Linked DNA regions of Homo sapiens: all the other regions are linked to region 1. The links are contacts of gene promoters, found by promoter capture Hi-C in blood cells and fetal thymus (Javierre and others, 2016). All regions are on one chromosome and are shown on one strand. Each heading gives the region's core, a stretch centred on a gene start or on the middle of the fragment in contact. The rest is flanking DNA. Distances are from core to core; before and after follow the strand shown. Region 1 holds the start of OTUD4 (OTU deubiquitinase 4). Region 2 overlaps SCOC-AS1 (SCOC antisense RNA 1). Region 3 overlaps ELMOD2 (ELMO domain containing 2). Region 4 overlaps ZNF330 (zinc finger protein 330).

What was found. Contacts are between HindIII fragments. The CHiCAGO score rates a contact against its expected background, and 5 or more counts as called.
Region 2: a contact is called between a fragment that was not itself captured here and the fragment with the promoter of OTUD4 in region 1, in 2 of 17 cell types (non-activated CD4 T cells and total CD4 T cells). The highest score is 7.9, in non-activated CD4 T cells.
Region 3: a contact is called between a fragment that was not itself captured here and the fragment with the promoter of OTUD4 in region 1, in 2 of 17 cell types (non-activated CD4 T cells and total CD4 T cells). The highest score is 7.8, in non-activated CD4 T cells.
Region 4: a contact is called between a fragment that was not itself captured here and the fragment with the promoter of OTUD4 in region 1, in 1 of 17 cell types (activated CD4 T cells). The highest score is 6.3, in activated CD4 T cells.

The regions. Positions count from the first base shown.
Region 1 is chr4:145,179,077-145,182,074 of GRCh38, forward strand. OTUD4 (OTU deubiquitinase 4) reads right to left here and starts at 1,513. Exons shown (of 21, transcript NM_001366057.1): 1 at 739-1,513. The coding sequence starts at 897. RefSeq lists enhancers at 615-1,444, 1,445-2,274 and silencers at 620-1,079, 1,200-1,429, 1,520-1,919. The HindIII fragment of the contact is 3,984 bases long and covers 1-2,998 here.
Region 2 is chr4:140,369,689-140,372,686 of GRCh38, forward strand. All of the region lies in intron 1 of SCOC-AS1 (SCOC antisense RNA 1), which reads right to left. It also overlaps a transcript of SCOC not described here. Among named protein-coding and RNA genes, the nearest start is that of SCOC-AS1, 2.2 kb to the right of the region's middle. The HindIII fragment of the contact is 4,110 bases long and covers 1-2,998 here.
Region 3 is chr4:140,526,045-140,529,042 of GRCh38, forward strand. It overlaps ELMOD2 (ELMO domain containing 2), which reads left to right. Exons shown (of 9, transcript NM_153702.4): 3 at 1,422-1,450. Among named protein-coding and RNA genes, the nearest start is that of ELMOD2, 3.4 kb to the left of the region's middle. The HindIII fragment of the contact is 4,334 bases long and covers 1-2,998 here.
Region 4 is chr4:141,226,519-141,229,516 of GRCh38, forward strand. It overlaps ZNF330 (zinc finger protein 330), which reads left to right. Exons shown (of 10, transcript NM_014487.6): 5 at 249-328. Among named protein-coding and RNA genes, the nearest start is that of ZNF330, 7.1 kb to the left of the region's middle. The HindIII fragment of the contact is 2,365 bases long and covers 332-2,696 here.

The DNA of each region.
Region 1 (2,998 bases), core at 263-2,762:
AATTCAGAAAAATCTTCCTGAGCAACTGTGTTAGAAAATGGTTTTGAAAAGCTCCAGTTACACGTACCCTTTCTACTACCAACATCAAAACAGGCTTTTTTAAAAAAGTCAGTTCTGTTTAGTATACCTACACAGCCCAGCAGAGCATAATAAAGGGTGGAACCTACTCAAGACAAATCCTTCAAAATATTCTATATTTGTAAAAGGCTGGTTTTCTCAAACGGCAGTTTGCCCATTTGATTCAAGTGACATGGGCGAGCTTGCCTACCCTACATTCCAAAGTCCAGCAGCAAACCAAAATATGTTCCACAAGTAAAGTTTGATCCACCACTTCTAGTAAACACTTGGTTTACTGGAGTGGGGTGAGCGTGGTGCTTCTCAAACGAAGGGAAGGAAGGTGAATGCGGAACAAAAGTAAAAAATATCATGTCGCCAGGTCCCCAGCAATAAATCAACTGTACAAGCTCCGAGCAGGCCTCACAAGTTGTCCTCAACTCATTACCTCTTCATCAGGAGAGAGACACCCCGTTAATTTGCGGGCTTTCGAGTTTCAATTTGCACCTTTCAGACGCAAAGCAGCGTCCCACTCCGGCGTTACAATGGGGCGCTGTGACGACAGCCAGGGCACGCGCAGCCCCGGCCGTGGGCGGCCCGGACAGCCCGCAGCTGCCTCCCCACCCAGACCCGCCGGGCCGTCCCCGCCTCCCCTCGAAGCCCTCCCCGCCCCCCCGCAATTACCTGCTCCGCCACGGCCCGGAACAGGCACGACCCGTCCTTGGCGACCAGTTTCCGATACAAGCCCAGTTTCCGCAGATAGGCGTCCATGGGCGTCGCGTCCTCGCGGGGCCCCGCGCCGCCCTGGTCCCCGCCGTCGGGGACGCCGACGGCAGCCTCCATGTTGCTGGTCCTGCTGCAGGCCAGGCGCGGCGAGGGCTAGCCCCACATGGCCAGGCCGCCGGCTGCTCGACGCCCCGGCCTGGGGCAGGCGGCGGCTCGGGCTGGGGCTCGGGCTCCGCGAGCGGCGGCAGGCGGCGGCGGCCCGAGGCAGCGGTCCGCGCTCTCCGGGCGCATAGGGAAGCCCTGCCTAATGCATGGCTGTCCGCACGCGGCCGCCTCCTCGGAGCGAACACGCGCCCACGACAAACGGGGGGAGCGGGATTAAGGAAAACCCCGAGAGTGAGTAGTCACTTCCCGACGGCCTCGCTGCCTGACTCAGGACCCAGGCCGGGGGTCGCCGCCCCCACAAGTTTCCTCCTCCGTACCGGTGTGAAGCGAGAAAACCCCCGCCCCTGGCGCGCACGCTGGGCCGGCTCAGGTGAAGCGGGGCCTGCGCCCCCGCGCACTCCCCACGCCGGGAGCCGAGGAAACCAAAAAGAAAGACGCGGCCTTTCGTTTCCCCACCTCGCTGGAGGGCGCCGGAGGGGCAGGGAGCGGGTGGGGGCGCCCGGGAGAGAACAGCACCTCGCAGCCCAGAATTTGTTTTCGCTTTCGGCCCGACAGCGGAGAGGACGGCGGGAGATGTAGTCTTGGCAGCCGCAGGAAGTCGGCTTGCGGCGGGCGGGGACGCGCTGGCCGGCCTACCCGGGGGAGGTGCCCGGGAGGCGCGCGGACTACAAGTCCCTACAGCGCGGGCGCGCCGCCGCCACCGCCACCGCCCCAAGCCGGCTTCGCGCTGCACTGGCGCCGCGTCCGCGAGCAGGCCGAGGGGCTCCGCCGGCCGATGTGGGGCGACCTGCGCGCGCCACCCGCCAACCCTGCCGCTGCGCCGCGGGAATCGCGCGCGCCGGGCTGGCGTGGAGTTGCCAGGGACACGGCGGCGCAGTGTCGGCCCTTTGTGTATTTCTTTCCAGAGGGCGCACCTGTCTGCTCCCTTCCCCCCGGCCTGCTCTCCTGGTGTTTCCATGGAGGTGGCTTTAACGGCTTAAGCAGAAAATAGAGCTAATTGGCTGAGGCTCCGGGAACTGGCACGGTGCGGGACGACACACTCTGTCCATAAATCAACCGTGGACTGCTGATTGCTATTAGTAGTACAGCTCACGTACTACGGCAAGATGAAGGCTTTGCCAAAGACATTTTTGTTCACCCTGTCACTGTAGCTGAGCACCCCATCACAGAGACATGTCACTGTCGGAAGACGTTAGGGTTTTTTTTTCCCCCTTAAAAAATTCATCTTGTAAATTGCTTGATAACATGCTGACTGGACTGGCCATGGCTTCCACCAGTGCTCGAGGCTTCAGCTCAACTTCCCACCCTCCGACGTTGAATGGCAGGGAATTGACAAAGTTAAATTATGCTTTAGAACCCAGAATTTATCCAGCATGCTTCTGTTGCACCAAAATTTTATTTTGCTAAGATACAACATCTGGTGTCCTTATTTAAATACATGGTTAATCATAGGAACTAATTCAGTCTTTTAGGCTATGGTGGAGGAGAGGGAGAAGAAAAGGGAGCATTACTATAGGTTTAGACATGTAGTCAAATACCTTGGAATGGGGGGCAAGGCAGGCCAGGTGGTGAGAGTCCAACGACAAAAATTTTTTAAAAACTACGTTAGACACTTTTCAGTATTTTCAGTGCAAGCAATCAGTCATGTATTCACTTTCCTTGGAGCGTCTTTGATTTCTTAATGTTTAAATATTGTATCTCAAATTATGCTGCTTTTAGAGAATACAAACGTTATCGTTACCTAAATGAAAAAATGTCCCTGCCTCAAATTTACTTGTTGTAGCGAAGAAACACTTTGAAATCAGGTTTAGAAAAGTATAGTTTCAGCTGGGCGTGGTGGCTCACGCCTGTAATCCCAGCACTTTGGGAGGCCGAGGCAGCCCGGTCACCTGAGGTCAGGAGTTCGAGACCAGCCTGACCAACATGGAGAAACCCCGTCTCTACTAAAAATACAAAATTAGTCGGGCGTGGTGGCACATGCTACTCGGGAGGCTACTCCCAGCTACTCGGGAGGCTGAGGCAGGAGAATAGCTTGAACCCAGGAGGCAGAGGT
Region 2 (2,998 bases), core at 126-2,625, 4.8 Mb before region 1:
CCATTCTCTAGGAAAAAAAATGTAATTTTGTGCCTTTATTTAGATGAACTATATTATCAATATTCACATAGTCCAGGTCGCATGAATGTTCACCTTATAATCAAATATTTCTATGCAATCTCAGTGGTTTCTATTTGTACTTATAGCCTTTCCTTATTCAGAAGGGGGATTTTTTTTTTTTTTTTTTTTTTTTTTTTTTTTTTTTTTTAGATGGAGTTTCGCTCTTGTTGTCCAGGTTGGAGTGCAATGGCGCCATCTCAGCTCACTACAACCTCCACCTCCTGGGTTCAAGCAGTTCTCCTGCTTCAGCCTCCCAAGTCTGAAAGCTGAAAATAAGCTGAAAGCTGAGTCATGCAAGAGCTGCCTTTTTATGTTTACATTTTAGTTTAAAATTACTTTCTAATTTTTTTGTGTGTGACTTCCCCTGTGACCCATGGTTTGTTTAGAAGTACATAGTTTGATTTCCAACTATTTGGAGATTTACAAATATCTTTCTGTTACTGATTTCTAGTTTAATTTGTGGGTAGAGACAATAATTTTTACTGTTTCAATTATTTTAAATTTGCTGAGATTTGTTTGATGATACACAGTGGAGTCTATTTTGATGAATTTTCCAAGTGCATTGGAAAAGAAAGCATGTTCTTCAGTTATTGGGTGCAATGTTCTACAAATGTCCATTAGGTCAAGTTGGCTGATAGGATTGTTCAGGTCTTCTATATCAATAGTTCAGAAATTTGCCAGCCTTTTTTCAAAATCACCTTCGTAACTTTCAAAAATACTAATGCCTGTATCTCACTCCTTAAGACTGTAATTTATTCTGAGGTGTGGTCTGTTCACTAGAATAATTAAAAGATTCCCAGGTGATTCTAATATACTGAAAAGTTTGGGACCTGAGTTCTGTATACTTAAATTATCTGTATAGTTGTTTTACAAATTGCAGAGCAGGGAGTAATGAACTGTTTGAATTCAATTAATTTTTGATTCATTTCTATTTTGTAGCACTGTGGTTAGGATTTTGTGTCTTCTTGATGAATATGCCCCTTTATCTAATTGTTTTAATGTTATTTTACCTAATTATTAGTGAAGGTAAACATTTTTTAAAAACCTTTCTGGCCGTTCAGTTTTCCTCTTCTGTAAGTGGCCTACTTACGTTATTTGCATATATTTATCTTGAGTTGTCTTTTTCTTACTGATTTGTCTGAATTCTTTTTTTTTTTTTTGAGACGGAGTCTCACCCTGTCGCCCAGGCTGGAGTGCAGTGGCACCATGTCACTGCAAGCTCTGCCTCCTGGGTTCATGCCACTCTCCTGCCTCAGCCTCCCGAGTAGCTGGGACTACAGGCGCCCGCCACCACGCCCAGCTAATTTTTTGTATTTTTAGTAGAGACGGGGTTTCACCGTGTTAGCCAGGATGGTCTCAATCTCCTGACCTCGTGATCCACCCGCCTCGACCTCCCAAAGTGCTGGGATTACAGCCGTGAGCCACCGCGCCTGGCCTGAATTCTTTATATTTTGAGAGTTTTACTATATTCTGCCAACCTGTGGCTTGTTTTTTAACTTGATTAGAGATGGCTTCTCTTCTGTTTGTAAAACTTCCAAATTTTAAAATAATCAATATTTTACATCTTTCCTTAATGAATCGTGCTGTTTCTTCCCTACGGCGATATACAGACATACGCTTTTCTTCTAAAAGTTTAGAGTTTTGTTTGTCACATTTTGGATCATTATTTCATTTGGAATTTAGTTTTATTTCTGTCGTGGTATCAGGATTGAATTTCTTATTTTTATATAAATAGCCAATTTAACTAGAACCACCATAACTTGTGTTTTCTATATCCCACGAACAGTTACTATACTAATTTACACTCCCAACAGTAATGAATAATAGTTTTTTCCCCACAACCTTAGAAACAGTTATTCCTCACCAGACATCTTTATTGTATACCAACTTCCAGGTACCCTTTTTTTCCTAATTTTCTTTTTGTCTATTCTTGTGTCAATACCACTTTTTTAAAAGTTGCTTTAAAATAGAATTACCATATGATTCAGCACAAATTAACACACACTTCTGGGTGTATATCCAAAAGAACTGAAAAGAGGGTCTCAAAGAGACATTTGCACACCCATGTCCATAGCAGTATTATTCACAATAGCCAAAAGGAGGAAGCAACCTAAGCGTCCACTGATAGATGAATAAACAAAATGTGGCATAATACACATAATAAATGATATATAGAACTATTCAGCCTTAAAAAGGAAGTTCTGCAATATGCTATAACATGGATGAACTCTGAGGCATTATGCTAAATGAAATAAGCCAGTCATAAAAGGGCAAATTCTGTATTATTCCACTTAGGTGAGGTACCTAGAGTAGTCAAACTGATAAACACAAAGTAAGATGATTACTGCCAGAGGATGAGGGGAATAGGAAATGGAGAGTTGCTCTTTAATAGGTATACAGTTTTAGTTTGGCAAGATGAAAAGAGAGATTGGTTCTGGAGATTGGTTGGAGAACAATGTGGAATGTATCTTATACTACTGAAGTTAAAAATGGTTAAGATGGTAAATTTTATTCTATGTATATTTCACTACAATTAAAAATATTTAAAAATACTGTTCTAGCAAAAACAAAAGGTTGCTTTTAATAGTTTCTCTTGATCTTTGGTGTCCTGCAATTTCACCGTTGCATAGAATTCTTATATTAATCCTGCTCAAGAATAAGTACTTCTTGAATCTGAAAATTCAAATATTCCACAATCTTGGAAAATTCTTAGTTATTACTCTTTGAATACTGCCTGCATCCATTCTCTCTAGTCTCTCTTTTTTGGCACTCCTATTAGATTTATGTTGGATTTTTTTTCATTTATTTAGCTCCTACATTGCATTCTAGTAAATTTCCTCAAACTGAATATTGCAGTCGCAGCCAAATGCATAGTTCTCAAAACACTGAATAGAAGATATTTTTATATAGCTCTTAAAATGATTAAGGCGATGTGTCA
Region 3 (2,998 bases), core at 264-2,763, 4.7 Mb before region 1:
CCATAGCCAATAGCCACATTATATTGAGCATTTGAAATGTGGCTAGTCTAAATTGAGATGTGCTGTAAGTGTAAAATATAAACTGTATTTCAAAGACTTATAAGAAAATGTAAAAAGTCCCAGTAATTGTTTATATTCTTTGTATGTTGAAATGGTAATATTTTGGATATGTTGGGTTAAAAATATATTAAAATGTTATCTGTTTCTTTTTACTTTAATGTGGCTATACAGAATTTTAAAGTACACAAATGGGTCACATTTTGGCTTGTGTTATATTTCTGTTGAACAGTGTTGCTCTGTTACCTTCTAAAATACATCAGTTTTCAGTGCTTCATTGAAAATTTTACTCTAAAATTTGAACACAGATGAGTAAGAACTGTGTTTTGAAGTCGCTTCTTTTCAGCCAGGGTAAGGAAGAGCAGAGAAGTGCTCTAGCTCATGCTCTCTGTGTTAAACGGAAAATTGTGAATTAGCCAGATTTTTTTTTTGTGTTGATCAAGTGTGCTTCGACTGAGAAATCAACCCCTGTCAGGTTAAGAGAGTGGAGTATTGGCAAATGGAACCTGTATCCAAGACAACATCGGAAGAATGACAGACAGACGCTGCCTCATAGCAGCTGGTTGATTAAGTTTAATTACTTTCCTAGTTTTCTTACAACTTCATGGTTGACTTAAATTATTGCTGCTCTTTTAATTTGCCCTTTTGACTACTCAAAAGAACAAAGTACCTCTTGATAAGAAATCTCTTCAGGCAGTATGGGTTGGTGTTTTATAGTGTGGGGGAAGAATATATATAAAGGCATTTGTTTGTGGCAAAAGCATTTTTCCTAAATTTTTCAAATTGCTGAGAAAAGATTATTCGTAAATGTGCCAGAAAATTTTTTAAATAGACCAATAAAAATGTTCCTGTGATTCTTGATATAGAAACCAGGAATGGAGAAGCTATTTGTCTGGTGACAGAAGGGTTGACCAGATAATCTGAAGTCCTTGCCTATTTGTTGTACGATTTGGTTGCTATCACCTCAAATCTAAAGGCTCAGGCTAACAAATGAAAATGCAGTAGAGAGCACTCTCATTGTAGTCTTAAGATGAGTTTCTGGGACCTGAGCTACTGTGACACAATTATGGGTGAATTTGCAGTGGTTAGTAGACACTTTGGGGTCTAAACAGAAACATATGACCCCAGGTAATGAGGTTGGTGTCACCTCTTTGAATAGGTATTTTGTGTTTGGTTGAGTTTTTTGAAATCATATGTTTATACTGTAAGATTAAATTTTAAAATGCTTCCTGTTATATAGAAATTATATCTCCTGGAACTATTAGTTTGTTACTGGTTTGATATTTTTACTAGTTGTTTATTATAGGGTAATTGACAAACAGCATTTAAGTGATAACATCTTTTTTTTTTTTTTGTCATTTCAGAAAATTCCTTGACATACTCCAAGAATAAGGTAGGATAACATAAAGGTGGTAACTCTAGAAAACTTAACGTGGACATATTTTTTCTTAAAAAAAAAAAAGTGCCCTGCTAGAAGAGTGTTTTCTATAGTGAGCATTGAGTGAAATTTTCCCCGTTTAGAGGTAATATTCTGTTTTCAAACATTTCTCTATATATGTGTTTTTCGTGTGTATTTCAAAGAAAATACTTGAATAATTTGTCCTGTCCTGAGGTTTTATTTGTTTATTTTGCTTTAAGAGTTGATAGCTTTTAGGAAAGCAGGGCCTTAGGAGGAAAGTCGTCTTTTAGACTGTGTCCTCAGGATAGATTATATGAGAGAAAAGCAACTTAGGATAGAGAAAACCCTGGGTTGTGTACCTTTTGAGCTAAAATAAGTCATAATTCATGCTATGTATTAGTCAGCTTTTGCTGTGTAACAAACTATAATAAAATCTCAGGGGCATAAAACGATACGTTGTTTCTTGCTCATATGTCTATGGGTCAGCTGGAGAAGCCTTACTTCAAGCTGGGGCCAAGTTCCTGTCTATTCCATTTGTCTCATCTGGGACTCAGGTAGGGGGTTAACAGGTATCTGGTGAATGTTTTCACCATGGATAACTAAAGGCCCAACTACACAAATATATTTTAAGTCTCTTTGTGTCATGTCTGTTAGCAACCTGTTAGTTAAAACAAGTTACATGGCCAAGCCCAAGTCAAGGGGTGGAGAAATATGATATGCCCACCGTAAGGCTATGGTAGGGAGTAGGTTGTATAATTCAATTACAAGGTAATGAAGAATTGGGACCAATAATTCAGTCTACCACATGCTGTTACTTCCCTATTGTAGTTCACAATTTTGTCTACATGTAGATTATTTGGTGTGGCAAGGATAGAATACGGGTCATCTAGACCATTGTTTGAAATCCCATAATAGAACACAACCAGTATTAAACAATAATAGGAATAGAACAGAAAATATTTAGAAACCATTGGTCATAATATGGTTAAATATATTTTAGGAATTTTTTATACTATTATAATTATTTTAAATATTTCTGTGTACATCTGTGTGTATTTTGGACATCCACATGAATGTTTGTTATTGATCATGATGTAAAATGTGGCTCAAGGTCAAAAATGTTGATTTGCTACTGTCTAGTATTATGAATCGTGCCAGAAATAAAATAGACCTTCTTGAGAGTTGCAAGCATATCTGTTATGTTCTGAAGAGTAACCTTTAAAATAGGTACTTTAATGATTTAGTTGTACTCTTTAAGAATGGTCTATTTAAGAATAACTCATATATATAAGTGAATATTTGGGGGAAGAGTCCAGAGTTACACTCCTTTGTTCAGAATTGTTAGAGAGTGATTAATATATTTTTTAAAATGAGGATGTGGAGGTCCTGAAAGCTAACAGGTTGCTGGTTCTCAAAATTTATTTATACCTTATTTATTTGTATAGTTCCTTTATTTGAAACATAGGATGCAGTTTCCCAAAGTAACAATATTACAAATTTTAGCAGATGCACTTGGGGAGGTGTTATATTTCAGGTCCATTA
Region 4 (2,998 bases), core at 264-2,763, 4.0 Mb before region 1:
ATATATATTGTATAGTTCATTTTACAGATTTATTAGTAAATGTATAATCTGAAAAGTCTGATTCGAGTAATGAAGTCTCAGTTATATCCATTTTCTCTTTCTAGTTATGTAAGCAGTAAATACTGATTCAATTTCATTAGTTTTTAAATTATTTCCTCAGGAACTTGGGCTGGATAAAAGGAGGAATTCGTGAGTACTGGTATGTATTCCTTTGCAAGACTAACAGTGCAAATGTTTTTCTTCATTAGGGAAAACAAAGTGCATGATGAAGTCTTCAGACTGTGTCATAAAGCATGCTGGTGTATACAGTACTGGCCTTGCAATGGTGGTAAGCTTCTTATTATCTCTTAGACTAGTACGTTTTCAAGGATAAGAAAATGTCATTCTGATCAGTGGTTATTTTTTTCTAAATATCATTGCTTTGTCCCTTGTTTCAATCAATCTGTAGTTATCTGGATTATGAGTGGCATGCTTTTTGTATGATTTTCCCTTAGTACCCACTTGTTTCTAGCTGCTTCTTTCTTTCTTATTAGGGAACATACAAGGCATGGAAACTTTTCATGCTGATCTAAACAGAATTTCATTTCTCAGTGGTACCTTTTTTTTTTTAAATTTTATTATTATTATTATACTTTAAGTTTTAGGGTACATGTGCACAACATGCAGGTTTGTTACATATGTATACATGTGCCATGTTGGTGTGGTGCACCCATTAACTCGTCATTTAGCATTAGGTATATCTCCTAATGCTATCCCTCCCCCATCCCCCCACCCCACAACAGTCCCCGGTTTGTGGTGTGTGATGTTCCCCTTCCTGTGTCCATGTGTTCTCATTGTTCAGTTCCCACCTATGAGTGAGAACATGCGGTGTTTGGTTTTTTGTCCTTGCGATAGTTTGCTAAGAATGATGGATTCCAGCTTCATCCGTGTCTCTACAAAGGACATGAACTCATCATTTTTTATGGCTGTATAGTATTCCATGGTGTATATGTGCCACATTTTCTTAATCCAGTCTATCATTGTTGGACATTTGGGTTGGTTCCAAGTCTTTGCTATTGTGAATAGTGCCACAATAAACATACGTGTGCATTTGTCTTTATAGCAGCATGATTTATAATCCTTTGGGTATATACTCAGTGGTACCTTTCTAATATCTCTTAACCAGACTTCACAAAACAGTATTTAGTGTACCGAAAGCCCTGCTTAACCAACGTTTAAGCCTTTGGTTAAATAAGCAACTTAGTTCCAAACGAACCTAGGATAATAGTGTTCTTTAAAACTTTACATTTCAAAAAAGTGTATATATTTAACATACCTCTTCATTACATATAGGATTTTTTAAAGTAAATTCAGCTTTTTGAATAATAAAACCAACTGGATTATGTGATGTATTTTGCTCTTTTTCCTGAAACATGTTTTCCTTCTAAATATGAGTTAACCAGTTTTACTGTATTGCAGTATGATTTTATGTTCAAATAAAATTTTGTTCAAATTTTAATCTATGAGGAAAATGATACTATATTTATGTCAAATGGAATATTTTATTTATGGTAAATTTCCAAGAACATGTAAACTTCTATTATGAGGGAGACCTATGATATATTTCATATGTGCATATATTATAGAAGCAAGGAGCGAGAATTATCATCTTGTGAATTGCTCTTTATTTTAAGTATAGGATTGTCAAGTTATCTTTATTCAAAAACACTTTCAGTCTTCCTTGGTAGCTTAAGTTCAGCCAAATTCATTTTTTAAAATCACTGTTTTTTGAATGTGAATAATTTCTTCTTACATAAAGAAAACATTTAAGTAGAGTCATATATCTTTAGTTGTAAATTCTAGAAAAGTGATTTTCTGGATATCTTCTATTTGCCTCCCCAGATTCCCCCTGAGAATAGCAGGAGAATAAGATCTGGGTGTTTATTCCTTCATCTCACTCCGTACCAGGTTATCCTGGTTTGGTTTTATCCTTTCTCTAAGGACCACAGTTCTCCCTATATGGCCAGGTAGTCCTCTCCTGTTTGTCCTAAGAACTTCCCTGTCCTCTGCAAATTATCTCTTTAAAACTCTTCTAGATTACCTAGTTTGAGAGTACCATCTCTTTTTTGCAAGAACCCTGGCTGATCCAAGAGATATAGTTGATGATTTGCTAGCTATACTGATAACCCATTTTTGCAAGTCAAAAAACATTCTTCCTATTTGTTGTTTACTACATTTGTTTCAGAGCCTTGAATAATAGAATACTGAATTGAGATTCTGAAATCCTGGCTTTAAATCTCACCTCACCTGTAATCCAACTCGGGACTTGGATTTAGTCTTGGGCCCCATGCTTTTCCTTTATAAAGGAAAGATTGTCTGATCCTACTCTCTTAAGATTCTTTCTAGCTTTTAATATTTGGTAGGTGTCAATGTTTTATTGAAACATATTGTTATTGTCTTTTCTTGATATAGAATTGGAGAATCTTACCCTGTATTTTAGTTCCATATATTTTACTTCAAATTTTTTCCACAAAGAAATGTAATTATTATTAAAACATAAGTTGTCATAAGAGAAAAAAAGAAGCTGGCAGAAGTTTCGTATTTCTCAGTAATTCTAGAAAAGCTATGCAAATATATAGATAAGAAGGTATTTTAAAAATCAGAAATGGTAGTATTTAAAAATTCAGTGTAGTTACAGGAATTATTATAGACAAGAAAGCTTAAGCTGTTGGTTCCTTCAAACTTTATTTGAATTAAATTCATTTTGAGGAAAATACTTCCATCTCTTTGGCTTAATTAAATAATATTAGGATAAGTGTACAGTTTACCTTTTTTTCTTTTGATATGTAACTGAGTTTTGTATATTGTGGATAGCTGTTAAGAAGTTGTTTTTCAGAGAACCCTTTTTATTTTTGGCTTAGAGTGAGTAGTAAAATGTTTAAATGAAGCGGCCTACTATCATTGAGGGTTGATAAATTGCTAAATGTATACAGTTTTGATGGTTGCCGTGGTTAAAGAA